Linked DNA regions of Homo sapiens: all the other regions are linked to region 3. The links are contacts of gene promoters, found by promoter capture Hi-C in human tissues and cell types (Jung and others, 2019). All regions are on one chromosome and are shown on one strand. The core of a region is centred on a gene start or on the middle of the fragment in contact, and the rest is flanking DNA. Distances in the headings are between cores, read along the strand shown.

Region 1 (4,259 bases), core at 1,718-4,217, 1.1 Mb after region 3:
TGAGGGGTCAGCACTGATGTGGTGTGAGAGGGAATATAATCTTGGGTCTCATTGTGTTGCAAAGAGGCAGTTCATATTATAGAATTAGAATTTAGGTAAATGAGAAGGATTTGGAGCAAGAGACTAGAAAGTCATGATATACAAGTGAAAGTTGAAGTTGCAAAATATTTCAGGGAGACTGTGTACAGAGAAGAACAGAGAAGGCAAAGGGTGTATCTTAGGGGATTAGTCCTTGTTGAGGAGAGAAGAAAGAAGAGATAGCCAAGGAAGTTAATGCTTTCCTCTTCTTGGGATCTTTCCCAGCATCTAACAGCAGCAACCTGCCTTCAGTAATGGAATACTTTATTGAATTTATAGTGGATGTGGGTCTTGTTAGTTTTATTCTTAAATAGATCTGGAACTATTATTGTGTATATTAAAAATGCTAATCATTGGCCAGGTGTGGTGGAAAATGGTACTGGTTGGCTAGCCAGGGTGGCTCACGCCTCTAATCTCTGCACTTTGGGAGACTGAGGCAAGAGGATTGCTTGAGCCCAAGAGTTAGAGGCTGCAGTGAATCATGATTGCACCACTGCACCCTAGCCTGGGCAACAGAGCAAGATCCCAACTCTTATATATATATATATGAGTATGTATATATATATATATATGAGTATGTGTATATATATATAAGTATATATATATAAGAATATATATAGTATATAGATAAGAGTATATATATAAGTATATATATATACTTATATATGAGTATATATATAAGAATATATATATACTTATATATGAGTATATATATAAGTATATATATAAAAGTAAATATATAAGTATATATATGAGTATATATAAGTATATATATGAGTATATATAAGTGTATATATGAATATATACACACACATATATGTGTATATATATACACACATATGAGTATATATGTGTGTATATATACTCATATATATACTTATATATACTCATATATATACATATATACTCATATATACTTATATATACTCATATATACATATATACTCATATATACATATATACTCATATATACTCATATATACATATATACTCATATATACATATATACTCATATATACTCATATATACATATATACTCATATATACATATATACTCATATATACTCATATATACATATATACTCATATATACATATATACTCATATATACATATATATACTCATATATATATACACTCGTATATTGCAGTAGATACTACTAGCATATATATATATACCACATTGCAGTAGATACCACTAGCATATATATATACACACTCATATATATACACACACACACATATATATATACTCTTATATATGTATATACACATATATATATGTTAGTGGTATTTACTGCAGTGTGCCCTTTTGGTAGGACAGCAAATATGTCTTTGGATCTTTCAACTAGTATGAATAATGAAAGCTAACTCTATTGTGTTTTTAATTTCTCACTGATTTTGCAAGATAATGACTTTACTCTTAAGATTGACATTCTCATAACTGTTGAATATTTCAAATATGGAACACAAATTTTGTTTCTTTTAACTTGGAAATACAGAAAACATTAAAAGTATTGTAAGCAGACTGGAATATGGCAGGAGCATAGCCTTTACAGTCAGATGTAGTTCCATGTGTGTCCTAGTTTTGTCTTTTGCCAATGTTGAGCTCTTAGGAAAAGTATTTGATCTTTCTGGAACTCAGTGTCCCATTTCAATAAAGTACTCAACCAACACACACATAATTTTCACACAAGGTTGTTGTGAAAATTAAAGTATTAAGTTTATTAGCAGATATGTGGTAGGTGTTCAATAAATAGCAGCTTTTAAAATTTTTAATTGGATGTAACAGAGGAGGTAAAGATGAAAGAAGACAATCTTGATTTATTGGGAGAATTTCTAAGTACCAAACACTAGCCTTACCATTCTTCATGTTATCTAGGTGGAGAGTATAATTTTTTTCTTTTCCTGATTTATTACTTAGTATTCATCCTCCCACACTGGGATATTATTCAAAAAAGCATAAAGGGTTTTTCACTTGCAGCCTTACTAAGAGTTGTCAAGAGAACTGCTACACTGCAGAACTTAGCTTATATTTGCTCCAACTGTCTCTACTCAAAAGGTGTTAAAGCAATGAACTGTTAGGGTGAATTTCACATTCAGGAAGCATTTGTTCCTTGTCTTCAGAGCAAGGAGAAAGAAACAGGGATGAATTCTTTAAAGAAACTGTGTCTAGGATCTGCAGTAGTTTTAGATATTTTTCTTTATTGAGGTTTTTGTATTGTCTTGTTAAGTTAAACTGAAACATGAAAAGAGCATAATCTAAATACTAAAGGTGGGCCATTTAAAAATAAAATAAAAGTGTTCACTTCTTAGCAACTTAAACAAATCATAAGCTATAGTATGATGTTCCTAAAATATTAAACTCCCATATGAAAATAGTTTGATTGTATATCCTTGAGAAGGAACATAAATTACCTAAATTATGAATTGTTTATTAAGTCTTATAGTATTTCATAAAACAATTTATCAAGTAAATTGAATGCACTGAAAGAGTTCTACTTGGTATACATTACAGTATGCTTTAACAAGTATTTTAATATTTTCTTAGGAAGATGCTGATGTTTCTATTTGGGAAATTTGGATTAAAAGCTGGGACTAGTATCCTTAGGAGAATAGGTTGTAACTGAAAAAAAAAAATCGATCTTGCTATAAAATGACAATTTTGTAAAAATTTCTGTTTATTTCTCAAGGAGAGAGGTTTTTTGGTTTTTCCTGTTAAATTGAGAAAATTTTCTATATTAAAGGCTGTGCTTTAACCAATTAAAGAAGTGTGATTTTTAGACTCAATATAAAACATATTAGAATCTTATTTTCTGAAGTAACCCTGTTCTCTATAGTTATTGATTTTTATTCAGCTCACATTAAATAATAAACAGGTTTTCAACATTGGTGGTAGCTTTATTAATATTCAATTTGGAAGAAACATGAATTTACCAGTAGAATTGCCAGCATCAATAATTTTTAAAAGTAAGAAATTTGCAGTTTTTTTCTGGTCATTCAAAGCTAGTTATAAGTTTCCCTTTCTTTCTAAGAATAACTGTAACAGAATTGGTATGCTTAAAAAGTGGACAGAATCCTATTATTTTAAGCCAGGTGATAGCTTTTACTGCAACCATGTTGCATCTCCTGAAACTACCCTAAGCTTCAGGAAATGCCAGCTTCACCCTTTGCACCTTTCTTTTATAAACTTTTACTAACATATTTACCTTAGGAAGATGATATTTTTGTTTAGAGCCCTCTCAAGAAGAAAAAAATAACTAAATGAATTAATATATCTTTATTAAATGGTTTGAAGCCTTTCTTTTACTTCTCTATAGATAATTACTATTTATTTACTTGAAACGAAAATAGCATTATCTTTGAGTCAACTTAAGAGCTCAATTCTATAATTCATAACATTCCTTATAAAATGGTGTGGTAGAGCTTCATTATGGATATTCAAACAGATCATGGCACTAACCATGACTCAAGGTCACCTTGATGGCCTGTCCAACCTTAGAGTCTGTGAGCTTACATTTCTCTGAACATAGATAAAGTAAAGTAATACAACATGATTAGTGTTGACCTTTAGTGGTCTTATTATGAAGTAGTTCTACTGTACTTTGGAAAGTACAAGCCAGGAATACTCAAATCAGATACTGATCTGATTTCACAGTAAGCTTTGTTTTGAGACACTGAATATTTTGGCCATGTGGCTTACGTCTAAGTACTGAAAATAGCTTAGCTGTTATTTTTGATGCCCATAATGTTTAAAATGGTGTGAATATAAGATCCTATGGATAATGTTACGAGTAGTTGTCCAGATGTGTGAAAATAATTTCAAAGAAGAAAATGATACAATTAAGCTGCACTCCTGACTCAGCTTATATATGTAGAGTATTTTGGAGGGGCTGTTGTGTAGCCAGTGTTTGACTATGGGGCTGACTAGGTCCGTATAATTGGAGGTGGAGGAAAGGTAGAGAAGGGAACAAGAGGCCTGCGCAGTGGCTCACACCTGTAATCCCAGCACTTTGGGAGGCCGAGGCAGGAGGATCACTTTAGGTCCAGAGTTCTAGACCAGCCTGGCCAACATGGTGAAATCCCCTCTCTACTAAAAAAAAAAAACACACACACACAAAAATTAGCTGGATGTGGTGTCACACACCTATAATCCCAGCTACTCGGGAGGCTGGGGTGGGA
Region 2 (4,219 bases), core at 1,417-3,916, 1.0 Mb after region 3:
GTTCTGGAGCTTAAAAGTATAATAACTGAAATGAAAAATTCACTAGAGGAGCTCAACAACAGATATAAATTGGCAAATGAAGGAATCTTTTAACTCGAAGTTAGGTCAATAGAGATTGTTCAATGTGAGGATCAGAAAGAAAAATGAACAGAGTCTCAAAAGACTTATGTGACTCCATTAAATGTTGTGCCAACATGGACATTATAGGATTCCCAGAAGATGAGAATGAGGCAGAAAGAATATTTAAAAAAAAATGGCAGAAAACTTTCCAAACTTGCTGAAAAATATTACTCTGTGCTACACATCCAAGAAGCTCACTGTAATCCAAGTTGAATAAGCCCAAAGTGATCCATACCTAGACCCATCATAGTTGAATTTAAAGAAAAATCTTGAAAGTAGCAGGAGAAAAATGACTTGTTACAAGGAATCCTCAATAGGCTTAATAGCTGACTTACGAGAAACCCTGGAGGCTAGAAGACATTTTCAACATTGAAAGTAAAAGACTGTCAACCAGTAATTCTCTATTTAGCTAAACTTTTCTTCAAAACTGAAAGTGAAATTAAGACGTTTCCAAATAGATAAAAACTGAAAGGATTCTCACGAACTCTAAGAAATGTTAAAGGGAGTCTTTCAGGTTGAAATGAAAGGACACTTAATGGTAAATTTTAATCCGTGTGAAGAAATAAAGAGGAATGGTTAAAGGTAACTACAGGCATTATGAAAGACATGTACAAATAGATTGAATAATAGATTGAAGTTTTTGTTAGGGATAGGCTCTAAATCCATGTCTTTTGTATAGTATAAATTGTGATTCTGTATTGGAATTATACTTTGCTGTCTGGAGAAGTGTTTATAAAAGTAATGAAAATTTTGGTTTCAGGTAAAACAAAAATTAGAACAAAAATTATACTGAAAATAATTATTACATAAATTTTGAATGATAACTATGAGCTAGTGACATATATGTATTACATCATTTTCTCATTACAATATCTCACTAGGGTGTGTTATCTAGATTTTATAGATGGGGAAAATTGAATTAAGAAAGAAAGTGACTTGCCCAAGGTCATTTAAGTAGTAAGTGGTGGAGCTAGGATTTGAGCTGTGGTCTGTTTAACACTAAAGCCCAAGCTTTTAAATACTGCTTTACACCTTAATATCCGGTGCTTTAATATTCTTGGCCTTCTTTCAAAAACTTCCCTCTTCCTGTCAATTCCAATAAATGCGTTTTTGTTTGTAACATTTTTTTCTCCAGTTATTTAAAACACAACTGAATAAAGCAATTCTTATAAAGTTGTATTGATGGGCTTATGATACATAAAAGATGGATTCCTTCATAGTTTTACAGATATGGTTCTCTTCTGGAATTTATAATACAACATGAATGCATCACTACCTTATAAGGCAGAGATAAGGTGCTGTTTGTCTGTGCCTCTAGTTTCTAAAATTGACTTGGTTTAATGGCATCATCTTAATGGTGATTGCTGTCACTGAGCTACTTCATCTCTTCCCCTGTTTTCAAGCAGTCCATAAATACTAAACTTTGCATCAATGCTGATAAACTAGCTACCTTCCAGTGCCCTATATTTGATGATCCTCTCTTGGCACTTAATAAGTTCAGCTTATAGATGATGTTTATGATTATATTCTGTGGGCAGCAAGCCATCCAGATGCCGAGGCAAGAGACCAGGGGCACGAGTTGTTCCAGTGTAATAAAGAACATAAAACAACAAGAGTTATACTAGATCTACATAGACATGATTATATATGAATATCATATGAATTATATGTATATATTATATATATTATATATGAGTATCATTAATCATTTGTAGCAATTACTCTTTATGCCAATATTATAATAATACTCGCTCTATAATCATAACCTAGGAAAAACTAGGCCATACAGAGATAGGAGCTGAGGGGACATAGTGAGAAGTGACCAGAAGACAAGAGTGTGAGCCGTCTGTCATGCCTGGACAGGGCCACCAGAGAGCTCCTTGGTCTAGCGGTAACGCCAGCGTCTGGGAAGATGCCTGTTGCCAAGCAGACTGTGGTCTAGTGGTAGCGTCAGTGCGAAGGGAAAACACCTACTACTTAGCAGACTGGGAAGGGGAGTCTCCCTTTCCCCAGGGGAGTTTAGAGAAGACACTCTACTCCACCTCTTGTGGAGGGCCTGACATCAGTCAAGCCTGCCCACAGTTATCTGGAGGCCTGACTGTCTCCCTGTGATGCTGTGCTTCAGTGGTCACCCTCCTAGTCCACTTTCATGTTCCATCCTGTACACCTGGCTCTGCCTTTTAGGCAGCAGTAGCAAAATTAGTGAAAGTACTAAAAGTCTCTGATATGCAGAAACAATATTGTAATATTATGCAGAAATAATAGCGTATGCTATTGCATACGCTGTATATGCGATATGCAGAAATAGTAGCATAAGCTGTCCTCTCTCTCTCCCTCTCTCTCTGTCTGCCTTGGCTGCCAGGCAGGGAAGGGCCCCCTGTCTAGTGGACATGTGACTCATGTGACCTTGTCAATCATTGGAGATGACTCACACTCCTTACCCTTCCCCTTTTGCCTTGTTTCCAATAAATAACAGCACAGCCTGGCATTCGGGGCCACTACCGGTCTCTGCGTCTTGGTGGTTGCGGTCCCCCGGGCCCAGCTGTCTTTTCTTTTATCTCTTTGTCTTGTGTCTTTATTTCTACAATCTCTCGTCTCTGCACACGGGGAGAAAAACCCACTGACCCTGTGGGGCTGGACCCTACAGTGTTCAAGATGAAGATATAATGCTTATAAGCATCCATTTATAACTGTTTATAGTTGGCAACCTACCTTCCTTCCTTCCTTCCTTTTTCTTTTTCTTTCTTTTTTTTTTTTTGGAGACAGGGTCTTGCTCTGTTGCCCAGGCTGTTAGTGCAGTGGCACAATTATAGCTCACTGCAGCCTAGATCACCTGGGCTCAAGCAATCTTCCTGCCTCAGCCTCCCGAGTAGCTAGGACTATAGGCATGTGTCACCACACCCAGCTAATTTTTTACTTTTTGTGGAGATGGGATCTTCCTGTGTTGCCCAGGCTGGTCTTCAACTCTTGGTTGCCTCAAGTGATTCTCCTTCCTTGGCCTCCCAAAGTGCGGAGATTACAGGCATGAGCCACCATACCTGGCTGCTAGTTTGGTCATTTTCTGTTTCACAGACATTTAGATTGATTAGGGTTCTAATGGTGTATTGTTGCAAACCTGTCTTTGATTCTTTTAAAGATTATACTGCAATATTTTGTGGTTTGGGCAAATAAGCACTGTTTCTGGAGACAAATCTGTATTCAGAGTCTTGGCTGCCACTTGTTGGCTGACTTACTTTTAGATATGTTTCTTCTGAGTCAGTAATCTCATCTATAAATTGGAGACAGTGATACTAAACCTTTTAACTTTAATTTTAAAAGCGTCATTGATATTATGAGCTTCTATGAGTTTGTGTTTCGGGGAAGTCTTATAACCAATGAGACAATCACGGAATTTCCTTCTTGCAAATGGTGTAGGTAAAGGAACTTTGAAACTTCAGTGGTACTTTCATAGTCTGTATTTGACAAGGGATCTTTTCTGATGAGATTGGTTCTTGTAGTTTGACTGTTAATAGAAAAAGTTAAAACAGTAGGTCATAAAAAGTGCTGCATACTTCTCACTAACATTTTAACTTGAAATGTGCAAAATGTATAAATAGACTGTTTTTGTGACTAGGACCAAGGGCCTTTTTTTCAATATAGGCTTGCTGATTGGAACTGCAAGTCTTATATAAATCTACATCTATAACAAGTCATATCCAGTTTATGCTTTATTTCTTTAATATAGATTAAAAAATTGAGACACTTGCAGAGCAGTGGTTCTCAAAGTGTGGTTCCCAGCCCAGCAGCCTCAGCATCATGGGAATTTCATAGCATGCAAATTCTTTGGTTTTACTCCAGACCTACTGAATCAGAAACTATGGAAGGTGGGGCTCAGTATTCTATGCTTGGCTTCCATGCTACATTTTCAGAAACATTATATTCTATATTTTATTATTTTTCCCAGGTTTAAAAATATTTCTCTTATCTTTGCCTATTTCAACAGCAGTATTTTGCAGTGACTTGCCTTTATCAAGTCTTTTCAATGCGTTTGACTTAGTTTTTAAAGATACAAGACCTTTTATTTTTGCTTTTATGGTTTATGTGATATTTAATTAAATTA
Region 3 (4,322 bases), core at 756-3,255:
TCTTGCTCTGTCACCCAGGCGGGAGTGCAGTGGCACAATCTTGGCTGACTTCAACCTCTGCCTTCTGGGTTCAAGCAATTCTCCTGCCTCAGCCTCCCGAGTAACTGGGGTTATAGGCATGAGCCACCTTGCCCTGGCATCTCTCAGTCTTCAAAAAGAGATTTAACAATTAATCCTCGACTCTTATCACTAGGAAAACAAACAAGGCCATCTCTTCTCTTTGGCCTAAAGGAAATCAAGTCGTTCTTTGTAGCGTATGCTATTTAAATATGGTAGAGTAGGATAAACTTTCCCTTAAAAATGTTCAAAACCGAAAAAAAAAAGTTCCAAAACCACTTGGCACTTCTTGGGGGAAATAGTCAAGATTTGCTTCTGTACTTCTCTCCTTTCCTCCTACAAATAGCCTCTGCTAGGGCCATTCCAGGATGTTATTTATTTACTAGAAACCTGACTTTCCTTTCCCCAAGGTTCTGGAGAATCCAATCTGACCCCAAGAATCCCATTAACTTCCAAAGGCCATTTCCATGCCCTATCCCCACCCTGAGGGGAGGGGGCGGTTCGGAGGAGAAGCAAGCAACACCATATATTCTGAGATTTAGGAGCAGCAGTTGGAGAGGAAGGTACCTGAGGTTGGGAGGAAACAAGCTGTCCCCACTTGCCTTTTCAGCAAACACAGCTGCAGTTTCCAAGGGGAAGGTGGAGCCTGCCGAGGAATCCACATTCCTCAGAGGGTGCAACAGCCCTCACCTGCTGAGGAGCTATCACTGGGAAGGCGACAGATATGGCGCTAATCCCAAGGAAGTGCATCCCCGGGCCGGAGCTAGAAACACACAACCTTGGTAAAAAATCAGAATCTAAATAGGAATAACTCATACCTCTGAGCAATGGCTCAGACATCCACCTGGTCCAGTGATCTGTGAGGGGTGGATCACTTAAATACACCCTTGTTTAAAAACAGGCAAGGATGGCTTAAACATTATCTTAAATACAAAAACAACGTGGAGAGCAAGGAAGGCAGGAGAAGAGACGGCTGAGTTCTCTTAGCTCTCTTCCCCGGTGACCTCCCGCGGGCCACAGTGGCACATCCCAGAATTCAGGCACGAATCTGGCAGCTTTTCAGAGCCCGGGTGCAGGCAGTCGGCGCTCGCCGCGTGGGAAGGCACCTTTCCACGCACTGCCCAGGATGAGCGGCGACAGCGTTCTCAGCCTCCCTCCCCTAAGGGTCCGGCCCATCCCGGAGGCCAGGGTGCCTCTTCCAATTCGACTGAGAACTGTAATCCACACTCAATCTCTGCCCGCGCAGCGAGGCTGGGGGTGTGGGGTGAGGAAGGTGGCGGTGATAGGGGGAGATACGGTGCGGGATTAACAAAGAAAAAAATCGAACCCTGTTTTCAAACGAGCAGAACCAAGAGCTACTTGCTTCCCTTTCTACCCCCAAGCCCCTTTGATCATTTTGGGTAGAGCAGGAACCAGCAGCTCAAGGAGCACTCAAATGGGAGTCCCAGAGGAGCTTTGTTCTTGGTGTGCAGTAATTAGAGCGCTTGGGGGAAAGCCCCCGCAGGGGGCCCGAGGCTAAGGCCGAGGGGGCATCGAGGGACCCTGCATGGAGTGCGCCAGCGCCAAGCCCACCCTCAGCCGCACGCGGCCTGGGCGCAGAGAGCGCGTGAGGGTGCGCGCATCGCCCACCCGCCGCGCCGCTCACCTAGCACCACCGCGGCCACGGTGGACAGCAACACCCAGTTATTCTTCAGGAAGCGCTTCCACTCGCATCCTTTCCTCGCCGGTTTCCCCATGGCTGTCGCCGCTATTGTGCGCTGGGCTCGGCCGTGCGCGCGTGGGCTGGGCGACCCGGGGACTGCTGGCTGCTCGGCGGCGCGGCGAGATGCGGGTGCACAGGGGAGAGGTGAGAGCCGGCCGCTGCAGTCGCCGCCGTCACCACCGCCGTTGCCGCCGCCACCCGGGATCGCGCACCGCGCCCGCCGCCCTGCCAGCCCGGTAGTTTTGCGTGGCAGGCGCGCCCGGCTCCTCCTGCTGCCGCCGCGCTCTGCGGCGCCTGGGCCAACCAGCGAGGAAGGAGGGAGGAGCGGCAGGCCCGGGAAGGAGGGTGGGTGCGTGCGTGGGACGCCCGGGGTCCCTAGGGAGCAGGCGTGGTAGGGCGCCCAGCGCTGCGGCAGGAGCTGGGGCGGCCTCTCCGGGAACCCTGAGTCCCGCCCCACAGCCTTCCACTGGAGTCTGTCTCGCTTTCCACGCCTCACTCATGCTAGGGCTTTGGGTTAAGGGTTTTCTTCTGTCCCTAACCCAGAGAGGCGGAGCCACTGCCCTCCTGGGCGCGGACTTCATCCTGCACGTCTCCCTCTCCGTTCTCCACACCAGCTATTTCCAGCGCCGGCACCTGCAGAACGGGTGCCCTTTCAAGTCGGGGGAAGCTGATCCTGCCTTGGGTCCCTCTTGCTCGGCTACTCAGGCTGGGATGTGCCAGCAGCCGCGAAAGCCTGAAGCTTCTGGGAGGAGAGAAAGGAGTCCTGGGGCAGAACATGGCTTTGGAAACTTTCACGCGGAGCCTCCAGTGCCCCCACAGGGATTATTCTCCTCTTCGAGTCGCTGGAGGTGATTTGTCTGTGGACACTGGGCTTGGGAGTGTTCCCTGCACAAGGAGATGGTGATTTCTCTTAGAACTTTACTTCTGCTCCTTGGGACTTGCTCTGTGACCACAGGCCCTGGAGCATGGAGGCTTGGGGCAGTGATTAGAACTGAGAACCGGACCCGGGAGCCGCTCTGGGGAGAAAGTGGGCGGTCCATCCCCTAAGGTCCAACGGATTGGAAAGGCAAACACAGGAGAAACTAGGTTAGTGGTGCCAAATATATTTGGTGTTGCTAAGTGAATTTCTGATGCTCTTCCATTTTTCTACCCAATTTTTTCACTCTCACGTATACAATCTCTTTCCCTCCCTTTACCAAATCAGTACCTCCGCAGCTGTAAGCGGTCTTCTTATCAGCGTTCCTAAAGTTAAGTGAGCCTGGAACCCTTTTTGCTATTGTAGAATCTACTCTGATTGTGGGTAGGGAGAATTTCCCCTACTAGATTTTCTGATGACTAAATCCCCACAATTAGAGCTTCATCCCTTTGGTGTAAATTGATACAAGCATCTTTTAAGCGATAATAGATTAAGATTTACAACCCTGTAGACTTTAGTATGAATGAGTTTATCAGCTCTTTATAGAAAGTAAACTTTGAGAGAAAGAAGGTTAGAGGGATTTTAAGGTCGTTGGGTGTCCGAGGAAGATCTGAAGAAATGTCAGAAGGGGACCCGGGTGCGGTGGCTCTTGCCTGTAATCTCAGGACTTTGGGAGTCCGAGGCGAGCGGATCACGAGGTCAGGAGATTGAGACCATCCTGGCTAACACAGTGAAACCCCGTCTCTGCTAAAAATACAAAAAAATTAGCCGGGCGTGGTGGCACGTGCCTGTAGTCGCAGCTACTTGGGAGGCTGAGGGAGGAGAATCGCTTGAACCTGGAAGGTGGAGATTGCAGTAAGCTGAGATCAAGCCACTGCGCTCCAGCCTAGGCGACAGAGCGAGACTGTCAAAAAAAAAGAAAAAAGAAAGAAAGAAGGAAGGAAATGTCAGAAGGGAAACTATCAAGAAAGGGAGAATAGTCCCGGGCGCGATGGCTCACACCTGTAATTCCAGCAATTTGGGAGGCCAAGGCAGGCGGATCACTTGAGGTCAAGAGTTCGAGACCAGCCTGGCCAACATGGGGAAATCCCGTCTACCAAAAATACAAAAATTAGCCGGGTTTAGGGCCATGCACCTGTAATCCCAGCTATTCGGGAGGCTGAGACAGGAGAATCACTTGAACCCAGGAGGTGGAGGTTGCGGTGAGCCGAGATCACGCTGCAGCACTCCTGCCTGGGCGACCGGAGGGAAACCCTGTCTCATAAAAAAAAAAGAGAGAGAGCGTGCGCGAGAGAACAGATTTGTCCCACAGTAAAAAAACAGCTGGAAAAAACGCAAATGTCCAACATAAATGGAATGGTAAATATATTATGGAACTGCCAAGCAACAGTACCTTATGCAGCCTACATAAAGGAAGTTTATGAAGTTTTTAACAGCATGGGATGGCACATGTTATAAATCTATATTTATAAATATAAAGGGAAGAAAGAAATACTAAAATTGCATGTACAATTTGATCACATGTGTGTAAAATAAACATATTGGCCAGGTGCAGTGGCTCACACCCGTAATCCCAGCACTTTGGGAAGCCGAGATGGTAGGACTGCTTAAGCCCAGGAGTTTAGGACCAGCCTGGACAACATAATT

The links. The method cuts DNA at HindIII sites, captures the fragments that hold promoters and counts their contacts. A contact is called where the count stands out against the background at its distance.
Region 1: a fragment that was not itself captured here is called in contact with the fragment with the promoter of SLC1A1 in region 3 in 1 of the 25 tissues and cell types used here (dorsolateral prefrontal cortex).
Region 2: a fragment that was not itself captured here is called in contact with the fragment with the promoter of SLC1A1 in region 3 in 1 of the 25 tissues and cell types used here (lymphoblastoid cells).

The regions. Positions count from the first base shown.
Region 1 is chr9:3,411,584-3,415,842 of GRCh38, reverse strand. The region is part of intron 1 of RFX3 (regulatory factor X3); the gene reads left to right. Among named protein-coding and RNA genes, the nearest start is that of RFX3, 110 kb to the left of the region's middle. The HindIII fragment of the contact is 5,241 bases long and covers 347-4,259 here.
Region 2 is chr9:3,473,760-3,477,978 of GRCh38, reverse strand. The region is part of intron 1 of RFX3 (regulatory factor X3); the gene reads left to right. Among named protein-coding and RNA genes, the nearest start is that of RFX3, 50 kb to the left of the region's middle. RefSeq lists an enhancer at 2,228-2,377. The HindIII fragment of the contact is 4,823 bases long and covers 255-4,219 here.
Region 3 is chr9:4,488,151-4,492,472 of GRCh38, reverse strand. SLC1A1 (solute carrier family 1 member 1) reads right to left here and starts at 2,005. Exons shown (of 12, transcript NM_004170.6): 1 at 1,703-2,005. The coding sequence starts at 1,793. It also overlaps a transcript of GLIS3 not described here. RefSeq lists a silencer at 1,778-2,207 and an enhancer at 2,358-2,407. The HindIII fragment of the contact is 11,033 bases long and covers 1-4,322 here.